Regions from separate parts of the Homo sapiens genome. Here all the other regions are linked to region 1. Evidence: promoter capture Hi-C in human tissues and cell types (Jung and others, 2019). All regions are on one chromosome and are shown on one strand. The core of a region is centred on a gene start or on the middle of the fragment in contact, and the rest is flanking DNA. Distances in the headings are between cores, read along the strand shown.

What was found. The method cuts DNA at HindIII sites, captures the fragments that hold promoters and counts their contacts. A contact is called where the count stands out against the background at its distance.
Region 2: a contact is called between a fragment that was not itself captured here and the fragment with the promoter of MRPS10 in region 1, in 1 of the 25 tissues and cell types used here (lymphoblastoid cells).
Region 3: the fragment with the promoter of RPL7L1 here is called in contact with the fragment with the promoter of MRPS10 in region 1 in 1 of the 25 tissues and cell types used here (IMR-90 fibroblasts).

The regions. Positions count from the first base shown.
Region 1 is chr6:42,215,800-42,220,142 of GRCh38, forward strand. MRPS10 (mitochondrial ribosomal protein S10) reads right to left here and starts at 2,062. Exons shown (of 7, transcript NM_018141.4): 1 at 2,003-2,062. The coding sequence starts at 2,050. RefSeq lists enhancers at 174-776, 777-1,378, 1,950-2,229. The HindIII fragment of the contact is 13,512 bases long and covers 1-4,343 here.
Region 2 is chr6:42,893,125-42,897,467 of GRCh38, forward strand. No RefSeq gene overlaps it. Among named protein-coding and RNA genes, the nearest start is that of PEX39, 4.5 kb to the left of the region's middle. The HindIII fragment of the contact is 6,847 bases long and covers 1-4,343 here.
Region 3 is chr6:42,877,293-42,881,635 of GRCh38, forward strand. It overlaps RPL7L1 (ribosomal protein L7 like 1), which reads left to right and starts at 2,324. Exons shown (of 6, transcript NM_001366481.3): 1 at 2,324-2,659; 2 at 3,569-3,674. The coding sequence starts at 2,619. RefSeq lists enhancers at 1,336-2,293, 2,036-2,505, 2,294-3,250, 2,526-2,585. The HindIII fragment of the contact is 12,927 bases long and covers 1-4,343 here.

The DNA of each region.
Region 1 (4,343 bases), core at 812-3,311:
ATCTTCTTTGCACCAAAGGGGAAAAGGAAAAAGGAAATCAGGTACAACACAAAGTGGTAAGAGGTATGTGCCATTCTTCAGACAAAATTGCATAGAAAATTCCCTCCCAACAATTACACCAGTGACCCCACAATCGAGTTGTGCAAGAGGAGCAAGAATATTACACTTCTCAGTCACATTCTCCCACTATAAACCTCTGCTTTTTCTTTTCTTTTTTTTTTCTTTTCTTTTTTTTTTTTTTTTTGAGAGAGTCTTGCTCTGTCGCCCAGGCTGGAGTACAGTGGAGCATTCTCAGCTCACTGAAACCTCCGCCTCCTGGGTTCAAGCAAGTCTCCTGCCTTAGCCTCCTGAGTAGGTGGGATTACAGGGGCCCACCGCCACACTCAGCTAATTTTTGTATTTTTAGTAGAGACGGAGTTTTGCCATGTTAGCCAGGATGGTCTTGATCTCCTGATCTCGTGATCCGCCCACCTCGGCCTCCCAAAGTGTAGGGATTACAGGCGTGAGCCACCGTGCCCGGCCAAGAAGTTTTTAAATTGCATTTTTTCTTTGTATTTCTTGAGAGAGAGAGAGAGAGAGAGAGAGAGTGTGTGTGTGTGTGTGTGTGTGTGTGTTGGGGGAGTGGTGGTTTGGAAGGGAGGGCTGTCTGGGTAAATTTGTCTTAATAAAGCAGTTCAAAAATTTCAATCTCTAATACCATCTGACTTTTCTCAAGAACAGTGGTTTTCAGGCCGGGTGCGGTGGCTCAAGGCTGTAATCCCAGCACTTTGGGAGGCCGAGGCTGCCGGATCACTTGAGGTCAGGAGTTCGAGACCAGCCTGACCGACATGGTGAAACCCCGTCTCTGCTAAACATACAAATACTAGCTGGGCATGGTGACGCATGACTGTAATTCCAGCTGCTCGGGAGGCTGAGGTAGGAGAATCACTTGAACCCGGGAGGTGGAGGCTGTAGTGAGCCGAGATCGTGCCATTGCGCTCCAGCTTGGGCGACAAGAGCGAAACTCCGTCTCCAAACAAAAACAAAAACAAAAACGGTGGTCTCAAAGTGTAGTCTGAGGACGTCTGTGGGGTCTGAGACACTTTCAGGGGATCCGGGAAATCAAAACTATTTTCATAAAACCAAAACGTCATTTACAACTTTTCCACTCATTCTCTTACCAGTGTACAGTGAAGTTTTCCCGTGACAGCCTGAGGTGTGATATAGGAAAAGATTAAATACAGAAGCAGATTTGAATCTAGCTTTTATTAAGCCAGAAATTAAAGAGAGCTGCAAAAATGTAAAACATTGCTGCTCCTTACTCAGTTTGTTCAGAAAATATATTTTTCATAAAGTATTAGTTGTAACATGTAATGAGTTAGTGTTACTTTTAAATCAATATATATTCTTAAGTTTTATTTTCCAAAAAGCTAAATATAGATAGCAAAAACCCACAAAAACAAAAGCTCTCTGGAGTCCTGAACTCCGAAAGTGTAAAGTGGTCCCAAGGCCAAAAAGCAGGAGAACCGCTGCTGAAAAGTTTTTGCTCCTCCTGCAAATAACTGCGCAGAGGATATCTAACCCACTTCTCTGGCTTGAGACCTTCATCTAAATTTGGATGCCAGGAAAGCATCTCAATTTAGTTCCATGGGAAGAGTCTGATATCTTGCACCAGCTCAGCCTCTAATTTTCGCGAGGCAAATTTCCTGTCTTCTCTGAGCCTCAGTTTATTTTGCAAGCGTGAAAGGAGGGGTTTTGGAACATACGAAGTACAAAATCTTTTCCAGCTCTGACATTCTACGATTATTCTTGTTCCTATCTTTGCCTGGACTCACTAACTTATATTTAATTCCATGAGAGAATTCTGATAAAACTAGCCCCTTTCTCGTCACTTTCCTGTAAACGGCGCGAGGTGAGGGATAAATATCAGGAAAAATCCTGATGGGCAGAGCGGCTGGTGGCAGGGAAACTTAAAAGCAACTATCCCGGTCAGCCCTCCTAGTCTCCCTAGCCAATCCAGTACCTGCCAGAGGCGCCGGCACACAGCACCGAACGCTGTCCGCGCCGCCATCTTGCCGGTCCCGACCTCTCAGGATTGCTTCCGGGGTTACAGCGGCGTCCTCAGACCATAGAGTTCCGCAAAAGAAGAGAGTACATCCTCATGTTCCGGCGCTGGAACAACCATAGAGACATGAACCTGTGCTTTTTGGGGGCGGGACAGTTGGCTGGCCAGGCTGGTTTGGCTCCGGCCAGTGTCTGGATAGTTACCAAGCCCTATTAATGTTTTCACCTTTAAATTGTTGTGTGTGTATACACACACACACACACACACATTTATTTATTTACTTATTTTTTCCTTTTAGAGACTGAGTCTCACTCGGCTGCCCAGGCTGGAGTGCAGTGGCACAGTCATAGCTCACTGCAGCCTCAAACTCCTGCCTCAAGTGATCCTCCTGCCTCAGCCTCCCAAGTAGCTGGACTACAAGTGCGTGCCACCACAGCCGACTAATTTTTTGTTTTTTTTTTTAATTTTCTTGTAGAGACAGGGTCTCATTATATTGCTCTCGTTATTTTGTGGGCTGGTCTTGAATTCCTGTCCTCAAGTGATCCTCTGGCCTTGGCCTCCCAAAGGACTGAGATTACAGGCATGAACCACAAAGCCCGGACTGAAACTAGTGTATTGACACCATTTACTTCAGTACTGGAATAATGGGTGATTTATTTTCCTATTTTTGCATTTTTCAATTTTTTTTGCATTTTTCAAAATTTTAACAAAATCTATATTTAACAAGAAAAAGAAAAGTCGGCCACTACCATTGGGTCCAGTTGCCACTCAGTTACCTTATTGCAGCGGCTTTCTAATTATGGTTCTTAATCCTTTCTTCCTTCCCCACACCAATTGGAATTCCTGTGCTCCAACCATTTTGTATACCGCTGTCCTACTGATCTTTCTAAATTATTCATTTCCTTATGTTACTCTAGTATTTAGGAATTTACAATGGCTAGCTTCACTTACAACAAGCCAAAGTGTTTTGTCTAATTATTAATGTCCACCATAATTTTTTCCAAGTAAAAAGATGTATAACTGGGATTTGCTATAATAAAAACTTCTTCAGGCTGGGTGCGGTGGCTCACGCCTGTAATCCCAGCACTTTGGGAGGCTGAGGTGGGCGGATCACCTGAGGTCAGGAGTTCGAGACCAGCCTGGCCAACATGGTGAAACCCCATCTCTACTAAAAATACAAAAAATTAGTGGGGTGTCATCGTTGTGTGCCTGTAGTCCCAGCTACTCAGGAGGCTGAGGCACGAGAATTGCTTGAACCCGGGAAGTGGAGGTTGCAGTGAGGCAAGATCGTGCCACTGCACTCCAGCCTGGGAGACACAATGAGACTCTGTCTAAAAAAAAAAAAAAAAAAAGAAAAGAAAAGAAAAGGCCAGGTGCAGTGGCTCGGCTCACACCTGTAATTCCAGCACTCAGCACTTTGGGAGGCCAAGGCGGGTGGATCACCTGACGTCAGAAGTTCAAGATCAGCCTGGCCAACATGGCAAAACCCTGTCTCTACTAAAAATACAAAGTCAGGCATGGTGGTGTGCACCTGTAATCCCAGCTATTTGGGAGGCTGAGGCAGGAGAATCTCTTGAACCCGGGAGGCAGAGAGTGCAGTGAGCCGAGATTGAGATTGTACCACTGCACTCCAGTCTAGGGAACAGAGCGAGACTCCGTCTCCAAAAAAAAAACTTATTCCATTTGTGCAAATCTTTAAAAATTTATTTTTATTTTTCCTTTTACTTTCTCCTCATCTTAAAGTCTGCTTCTATAATACTATATTGTCTTTTTTGTGTGTGTGTGTGAGACAGTGTCTCGCTCTGTTGCCCAGGCTGGAGAGCACTGGCTTGATCATAGCCCACTGCAGCCTCAAACTCCTGGGGTTAAGTGATCCTCACACCACAGCCTCTGGAGTATCTAAAACTACAGGTGTTTGCGACCATTTTTTATTTTATTTTTATTGTTTTGTAGAGACAGAGACTTGCTATGTTGCCCAGGCTGGTCTCAAACTCCTGGCTTCCAGCAATCCTCTCACCTTGGCCTCCCAAAGTGCTGGTTTTACAGGTATGAGCCACTGCACTTGGCCCATTTGTTCACATTTCTAAGCTTTATTTCCCCAAAGTGCTTTCACATATGCATTTTAGCCTAATGGAAAACTCTAGCCTTATAATCAGATCTGGTTTCTAATCCCAGGCTTACCAGTTAGTTGAGTGACTTTGAGCAAGTTACTTCCTTACCCTCAGCCTCAGTTTGCTCATATGTCAAAAAAAAAAAAAAAAAAAAGATAACAGTAGTTCCTGCTTCCAATAGTTGCTTG
Region 2 (4,343 bases), core at 1,303-3,802, 680 kb after region 1:
TATCAAGTGTGATAATTGTGGTTATGTGTGGGAATTACCTTGTTCATAGCAAATACATTCTGAAGTATGTAGAGGTGAAGTGTCATGATGACAGAAAGAAAGCAAATGTGGCAAAATTGCTAAGAATTAGTGAATCCACGTGAGGGTTTGAAACTTGTCAAAATAAAAAGTTGGGGTAGGCCCGGTGCAGTGGCTCACGCCTATAATCCCAGCACTTTGGGAGTGGTCAAGGCAGGAGGATCACTTGAACCCAGGAGTTCAAGACTAACCTGGGCAACATAGTGAGACCCCCTCCAAAAACAAAAATTGGCTGGATGTGGTGGCACACACCAGTAGTTCCAGCTACTTGGAAGGCTGAGGCTGGAGTATCACTTGAGCTCAGGAGGTTGAGGCTGCAGTGAGCCAAGATTGTTCCACTGCACTCTAGCCTGAGCAACAGAGACTCTGTTAAAAAAAAAAAAATTGGGGTAGGGGGCACTTGGTAAGAGCTTGAGAAGCCAGTCTGGAGGAAACTGACCATATTGAATGTTGTATAATAAAGAATTTTGAAGGGGTGGCCTGCCCCTCCACACCTGCGGGTATTTCTCGTCAGGTGGGACGAGGGACTAAAAAAAGAAATAAGACACAGAGACAAAGTATAGAGAAAGAACACTGGGCCCAGGAGACCAGCGCTCAGCGTACGGAGGACCTGCACTGGCCCCAGTCTCTGAGTTCCCTCAGCATTTACTGATTATTATTTTCACTGTCTCAGCAAGGGGAATGCAGCAGGAGAACAGGGTGATAGCGGGGAGAAGGTCAGCAAGAAAACATGTGAGCAAAGGAATCTGTGTCACAAATAAGTTCAAGGGAAGGTACTATGCCTGGATGTGCACATAGGCCAGATATATGCTTCTCTCCACCCAAACATCTCAGTGTAGTAAAGAATAACACAGCAGTATTGCCACCAGCATATCTCGCCTCCAGCCACAGGGCGGTTTTCTCCTATCTCAGAATAGAACGAATGTACAATCGGGTATTATACTGAGACATTCCGTTCTCAGGGGCATGCAGGAGACAGAGGCCTTCCTCTTATCTCAACCGCAAGAGGCCTTCCTCTTTTACTAATCCTCCTCAGCACAGACCCTTCACGGGTGTCGGGCTGGGGGATGGTCAGGTCTTTCCCGTCCCACGAGGCCATACCTCAGGCTGTCTCAGTGGGGAGAAACCTTGGACAATACCTGGCTTTCCTGGGCAGAGGTCCCTGTGGCTTTCTGCAGTGCATTGTGCCCCTGGTTAATCGAGAATGGAGAATGGCGATGACTTTTACCAAGCATACTGCCTGTAAACATTTTGTTAACAAGGCACATCCTGCACAGCCCTAGATCCCTTAAACCTTGATTCCATACAACACATATTTCCGTGAGCACAAGGTTGGGGCTAAAGTTACATATTAACAGCATCTCAAGGCAAAACAATTGTTCAGGGTACAGATCAAAATGGAGTTTCTTATGTCTTCCTTTTCTATGTAGACACAGTAACAGTCGGATCTCTCTTTTCCCTACATATCCCCCTTTTTGACAAAACTGCCATCGTCGTTATGGCCCGTTCTTGCTGGTCGCTGTCTCTTCGGAGCTGGTGGATACACCTGTGGACTAACAACAGACAGAACAGGCATACAAGGATTAATATGAAATTTACAATAGTGGAACTTCTGATGGTTTTTAACCAAGTGACAGTGTTAAGATTTGTGAGGCCATCAGTAGCTTTCACGATTGCCTCAGTTCCCAAATTTAAATGGGCTTTCGATGCCTCAAAATTTTGTTATTTTAATTTTGAAATATCTAAAGTAAGATTATCTTCTCTTCCCTGTAGATGGCATCTAACCATGTCCCAGTGATGCTCAGACTCATTATAGGCTTGGGGTGTAATACAAAAATCTGACATATTCCAGTCACACTGTAACTGAAAAAGATATTCCAAGCTCATGAGCCTATTTCCCAGCCAAATGACAGTTTGTCTAAGATCATTAATTTCGTTTGCCAATTTTTGATTTATTTGGGTCTGAGAATTCCACAATTTTGAGGAATTCTTTCGCCAATCATTTACATATTCTGCAGTTTGAACAGAGGAGTGTAAAGCAATTCCAGCAGCTGCAGCAGTAGCTGTGACTGCAATAAGGCCCATAATCACTGCAATCAAAGTAAAAATCTTTTGGATCTAGTTAGAATTCCTTTTAATACTTCCGTTAAAATATGGAAGATGGCGAAGCCTCCCACTGTCGGTCCATGGACACAGGGATCCGCACACCTTCTCTTGCCCTCACTAGCAGAATATGGCGCTGCCAATTAAAAGTCAAATCAATGCAAGTAAACAATCTACAGTTTTCACAGGTTATAGTTTGGGAATCTGGTTTAATAACTATGTTTTCTATAACTAGCATATAAGGGGGTTTTACACAACTTTGTAAAGGAATTGTCAGATTGGAATTTAGGTTGATAGTATAATATGGCTTACGATTTCTTGTTTCTGTAGCTTGATTTCCAGACCAAATTCTAATGTAGTGCGAGGCCACAGTAAGCTTCCATAATTTTGGATGTTTAGGACCAGTAACAGGACTAACTAACTTTGGTCGAGGTGATGAAATTCCCTTTTCACCCCATTTCCAGGGATAGGGTGATTCTAGCCTTCTATAAACCTGGTCCAGCCTTTCAATTAAATCACTATCATAGGCCGGATTAATGGGCCAGATGGATGGGGCCTGTAAACATGAGTGAGTCTGGCCCATACAATTATATATAATATAATTGTATATAATATAATATAATATATAACTATTATATAATATTATAGTAGTTCCAAATTCATTGTTTTGTAATACCACCGCAGTATTAGCCACACATTCTTCCCAAACTAAGGCTTCTGGGCTTTTTGATTCTTTGGGAATTTCCTTGGGGCAAGGCTTCCCCTTAGGCCCAGATTTTAATGATCTTTGATAAGAAGCGTCCTCTAAATTATTTATCTGTGGCCCGAGTGACATTCCACTTACCATGTGATAAGTAAATTTACTGGTGGCACTGACGGTAGGTACTTCTACCAACCAGTTTTGGGTTGTAGGCATTAAACATCCTGGTGCCTTCCCTAGGCAAATAGGAGGATAATGATACCCAGTGGAAACATTTATCATCATTCCTTCTTCTTTAGGTTGGGCAGGGCAACAATCGTCTGTGGGGCCTGGTACCCATGCCCTATTATTAACATATACTTCAACAGGATTATCCATCCATGTGACTGCCCAAATTAAGGGTGGGAAAGGCACATAGGCACAGTAAGTATAATTAGTTGCAGCTGCTCCTGCAGACATGGGGAGACTTACTACCGTTGATATAATAATCAAAGCTGTAAGCAGTATATTCTCTGGAGTTCACATTACCCTTGTGTTCTTTAGGCTTTTTTTAGCTAACTGTGTCAGCTTCTTTAATTGGGCCCAAGTCGGTGGCTCCGCTTCCTTGGTGGATGGCAACTTCATCTGTTCTTCTGATATCACCATTTTATTTACCTGGCGAGTCGATGATGCTCAATTGAGGGTTTTTTGTCTCCGCAGAGGCGCTTTTCTTCGCATCTCCAAGGGGTTCATTGTAGAACTTTAAATTTCTAGTGGGTATCCAACCAGGAAGCTGATTTTCTCCTTGTGAAACACAAGCAAAGCCTCTCTCCCATGTTATCACCTTCCCTATTTCCCATGTCTTATTTTTCTTGTCTTTCCACCAAATCAGTTTTCCTTCATGTGGGCTATTCTTTTTACCAGTAAAATGTTGTTCTGCAGAAGTAGTGGTTTGATTTCTATAAATGTTTAAAAAATTTAAAGTATAGAGTGCTAGATTAAGTTGCATCTGGGGAGTGTTATACTCCTTACTGTCTTTTTTCCTTTTTTTGTTTAACCAATTGAGCTTTGAGTGTTCTATCAGTTTTTTCAATTATGGCCTGTCCTTGGGAATTATAAGGGATTCCTGTTGTATGTGTAATTTTCCACTGATTTAAGAATTTTTGAAATGTTTTACTACAGTATCCTGGCCCATTATCCGTTTTAATTTTTTCTGGAACTCCCATGACAGCAAAACAAGATAATAAATGTCTTTTAACATGGGAAGTATTTTCTCCTGTCTGGCAGTTTGCCCTTACAAAATGTGAATAAGCATCAACTGTCACATGGAGAAATGACAATTTTCCAACTGAAGGTACATGTGTGACATCCATTTGCCATAACGCATTAGGACACAGACCTCTGGGATTAACTCCTGCCTCCTGAGTGGGCAGGTGTGGAATCTGACACTGGGTGTAATGTTGTACAATATTTTTTGCCTGTT
Region 3 (4,343 bases), core at 1,074-3,573, 660 kb after region 1:
TCCCATTCAGTCTTGGAGTACTGGTTTTTTGGGGGTTGTTTTGACACAGATTCTTGCTCTGTTGCCCAGGCTGGAGTGCAGTGGCATAATCTCGGCTCACTGCAACCTCCGCCTCCCAGGTTCAAGCAATTCTCGTGCCTCAGCCTCCCAAGTAGCTGACTACAGACATGTGCCACCATGCCCGGCTAATTTTTGTATTTTTGGTAGAGACAGGGTTTTGCCATGTTGCTGAGGATGGTCTTGAACTCCTGAGCTCAAGTGATCTGCCTGCCTCGGCCTCCCAAAGTGCTGGGATTACAGGCGTGAGCCATCGCCGCCTGGCTGAAGTATTGTTAACCCTAAAATTCCTCCTCCTTTTAATATTATTGGTACCACAGACTCTACCTTTTATCCATAGACAGGAAAAATCACAAAACATTTAACTTTTTGCTTTTTTGTTTACTATTTAGTGAATGTCTTACACTTTGGTGACCCTTGTGTTTAGCCTCTTTACAAAGACACATGGTGAGGTGCTGAAAGAGAATGAGCCTCCCTCTTTCAGTGTGTGACCTTGAATGCTGGGTTGTCCTGACACTTACTCATCAGAAAGTGACCTGTGCCCATGGCACTCTTTCCGGTTGGACTAGTTACATGGCAACACGAGGCCTTTAGCTGCCACCAGTATCAGTATCAATAGTGCCAAAATCGAGAAATTGGTGCTAGATCCTTAGGATCAGTGATGAGTAAGCAGTCATGGTTCCTGCCCCCCCTAGTATCATGTGGAAGAAATATTAAAAATATAATAATGTCCTGAGGGAAATCAGACACTACTCTAGAGTCTTACTAGTCAGCCCATAGACCAGTAGCACCAGCGTCACTCTGAAGCCTGTTAAAAATGCAGAATATTGGCCAGGTGCGGTGGCTCACGCCTGTAATCCCAGCACTTTGGGAGGCCGAGGCGGGCGGATCACGAGGTCAGGAGATCGAGACCATCCTGGCTAACAAGGTGAAATCTCTACTAAAAATTCAAAAAATTAGCCAGGCGTGGTGGCGGGCGCCTGTAGTCCCAGCTACTCGGGAGGCTGAGGCAGGAGAATGGCGTGAACCCGGGAGGCGGAGCTTGCAGTGAGCCAAGATCGCGCCACTGCACTCCAGCCTGGGCGACAGAGCGAGACGCCATCTCAAAAAAAAAAAAAAAAAAAAAGCAGAATATCAGCTCCCCACCCGGCCTCCTGAATAAAAATCTGTATTTTAGTAAAATCTTCAGGTGACTCCTATTCACTATTAATGCTTGAGAAGCGCTGCTCTGGAGGTTTCCAGAGATGATAAGACTTGTGTTGTTTTTCAGGATTTTTAATTTTAAAAAAAATTTATTTCTTGTTTTTTTTGAGACTGTCTCGCTCTGTCGCCCAGGCTGGAGTGCAAGTGGCACAAACTCGGCTCACGCAGCCTCCGCCTTCTGGGACTTCAGGCGCGAGCCACCACGCCCAGCTAATTTTTTGTATTTTTAGTAGAGACGGGGTTTCACCATCTTAGCCATGCTGGTCTCCAACTCCTGACCTCAAGTGATCCACCTGCCTTGGCCTCCCAAAGTGCTGGGATTACAGGTGAAAGCCACCGGCCCGACCTACTGTTTTTCAGGATTCTATATAGACTGGGAGGGAAGAACGCAAATTCCGGGCGATGAGAGCTGCATAAGGGTTTTATTTTTATTCTTTTTTTTTCTTTTCTTTTCTTTTTGTTTTTTTGAGACGGAGTCTTGCTCTGTCGCCCAGGCTGGTGGGCAGTGGCGCGATCTCGGCTCACTGTAACCTCCGCCCAAGACGGGGTTTCGCCGTGTTGGCCAGGCTGATCTCGAACTCCTGACCTCAGGTGATCCTCCCGTCTCGGCCTCCCTCCCAAAGTGCTGGGATTACAGGCGTGAGCCACCGCGCCCGGCCTGTGTAACGGTTTTAGACGGGAAGGAAGCATGTTGTAGTTTTCGGTCCAGCAGTAATAGTAACAAACATAGTGCTGACAGACACTGCTAAACGCTTTATCTAATCTCCTGTAATCCTCGTAACGCCATTAGGTAGACCTATTATTACTGTACACCCATTTTATGGGTAATGAAGCCGCAGTATAGAGGGGTTAAATAACGTGTTCAAGGACGCATCGACGGGGCCAAGCAGACGGAATTGCAGCTACCTGCTTTACCACTCTAAGTCCTCAACAAACACTTCCACCTACACGTGAGAGCCAAAGCCATAGCCTCCAAGTTTTTCCACAGAGCGAAAATGTTTCGCGGAGTTTGCCTGTCTTCCTCCCCAGAGACGCAGCACAGCCGCGCCGGAAGTGCGGCGCCGTAGCTAGGAGCGGACGCCATAGGTGCATTGTGGGAAGCACTTTGCTGTCCACAGCCAGGCCGCTTGTGATGAAACTGTAACTTACAAGAAAAGGGCTGGGTTTTGAAAATAACACAGGCTCTAAAAACCCTAAGAAGCGGTGCAACTTTTGGCAGGAATCGGGGTTAGCGGGACCTCAAGGGCTCACTGCGGCTAAGTGAACGCTGACTGGTCCTCCAGCGTGAGCTAGAACAGACGTCTCTATGGTCAAGTAAACAGAGCGTGTGCTGTCTTCCCCATGTGGTGGGGTTGCGCATGATCAGTAGCTGCACCACTAGAAAGATGGCGGAGCAAGAGTGAGTGTTTGGGGCTTTGAATATCTGGAGTGGGGTCTTGAGTATCCGGTGCCATCCACGGTGTTTATGCCTTGGTGGCGGATTCCTGTGGGCTCTAGGAATAGAAAAGGCCACAGTTTACAAAGGGTGGGGGTGAGGAGGAGTAGCGCTGTGGCGGAGGAGGGAGGGGACCGCGGTCAAGTTCGGGTTATCTGGAGAGGCGAGGATTGACTTCAGGCAGCGGGCTGGAGTGCCACAGTTGAATTCACCCAGCCCGACAAGTGTTAACTCTGCAGATAGGCCTGCCCCCGCCCCAACCCCATAGATTCGTCGCTGCTAGTGCCTATGAAGAACTGTGGCCGTGAAAACCCTGTTAACTTATACGAACCCAGAGGCTAAAGGATTCATTATTTTCCGAGGCTTTGGGGATGAGTGACTATTAGGGATGGATTTATGAGGCCTGGAGTCAGAAACCGCAGGTTTCAGGGGAATCTTTCTTCAGATACTTGAAAACAGTAATGTTCCCTAAAGCCCAGGATATTGAATTGGTTTGGAAATCCATTGAATGTTCGTTTTCTTTTTTGTTGTTGTTTTTGTTTTGAGACGGAGTCTTGCTCTGTCCCCCAGGCTGGAGCGCAGTGTCGGGATCTCGGCTCGGTGCAACCTCCGCCTCCCGGGTTCAAGCGATTCTCCTGCCTCAGTCTCCCGAGTAGCTGGGATTACAGGCGTGCGCCACCACGCCCAGCTGATTTTTTATTTTTAGTAGAAACGGGGGTTTCACCATGTTGGTCAGGCTGGTCTCGAACTCCTGACCTCAGGTAATCCACCCACCTCGGCCTCCCAGAGTGCTGGGATTACAGGCTTGAGCCACCGAGCCCGGCCAAGTGTTCTTTTCTAAATGTTATCTCTGATCTCAATTTTCTGCATCAGGCAAAGAAAAATCCCTTTGGTTCCAGAAAATCTCCTGAAAAAGAGGAAGGCTTATCAAGCCCTCAAAGCCACCCAGGCAAAGCAGGCACTTTTGGCAAAGAAGGAGGTAATGGTGGGGAACCAAGAGAAAGTAATTAGAATTTTTATTTGGTGAGTTTTATCCCGCATGTGTTGGACTACATTTGGTATTGACGAGCTCCCCCCAACGGTTTGACAGACCAGGTATAGTTGTCTCTCAGTGTCCTTAAGGGGTTGGTTCCAGGACTCCCACAGATGCCTAAATCTCAGACTGCTGAAGTCCCTTATATAAAATGGTTGTAGTAGGCCGGGCGCGGTGGCTCACGCCTGTAATCCCTGCACTTTGGGAGGCCGAGGCGGGCGTATCACGAGGTCAGGAGATCGAGACCATCCTGGCTAACACGGTGAAACCCCGTCTCTACTAAAAATATAAAAAATTAGCCGGGCATGGTGGCAGGCTCCTGTAGTCCCAGCTACTCGGGAGGCCGAGGCAGGAGAATGGCGTGAACTCGGGAGGTGGAGGTTGCAGTGAGCCAAGTTCGTGCCACTGTACTCCAGCCTGGGCGACAGAGCGAGACACTCTCTCAAAAAATAAATAAATAAATAAATAACTGGTTGTAGTATTTGCATATAATCTATACTCCTTCCGCCTATGTAGTTTAAATCCTCTCTGGATTGCTTAATAGCTTTATTTATTTATTTATTTATTTTGAGGCAAGAGTCTCACTCTTGCCTAGAGTGGAGTGCAGTGGCACAA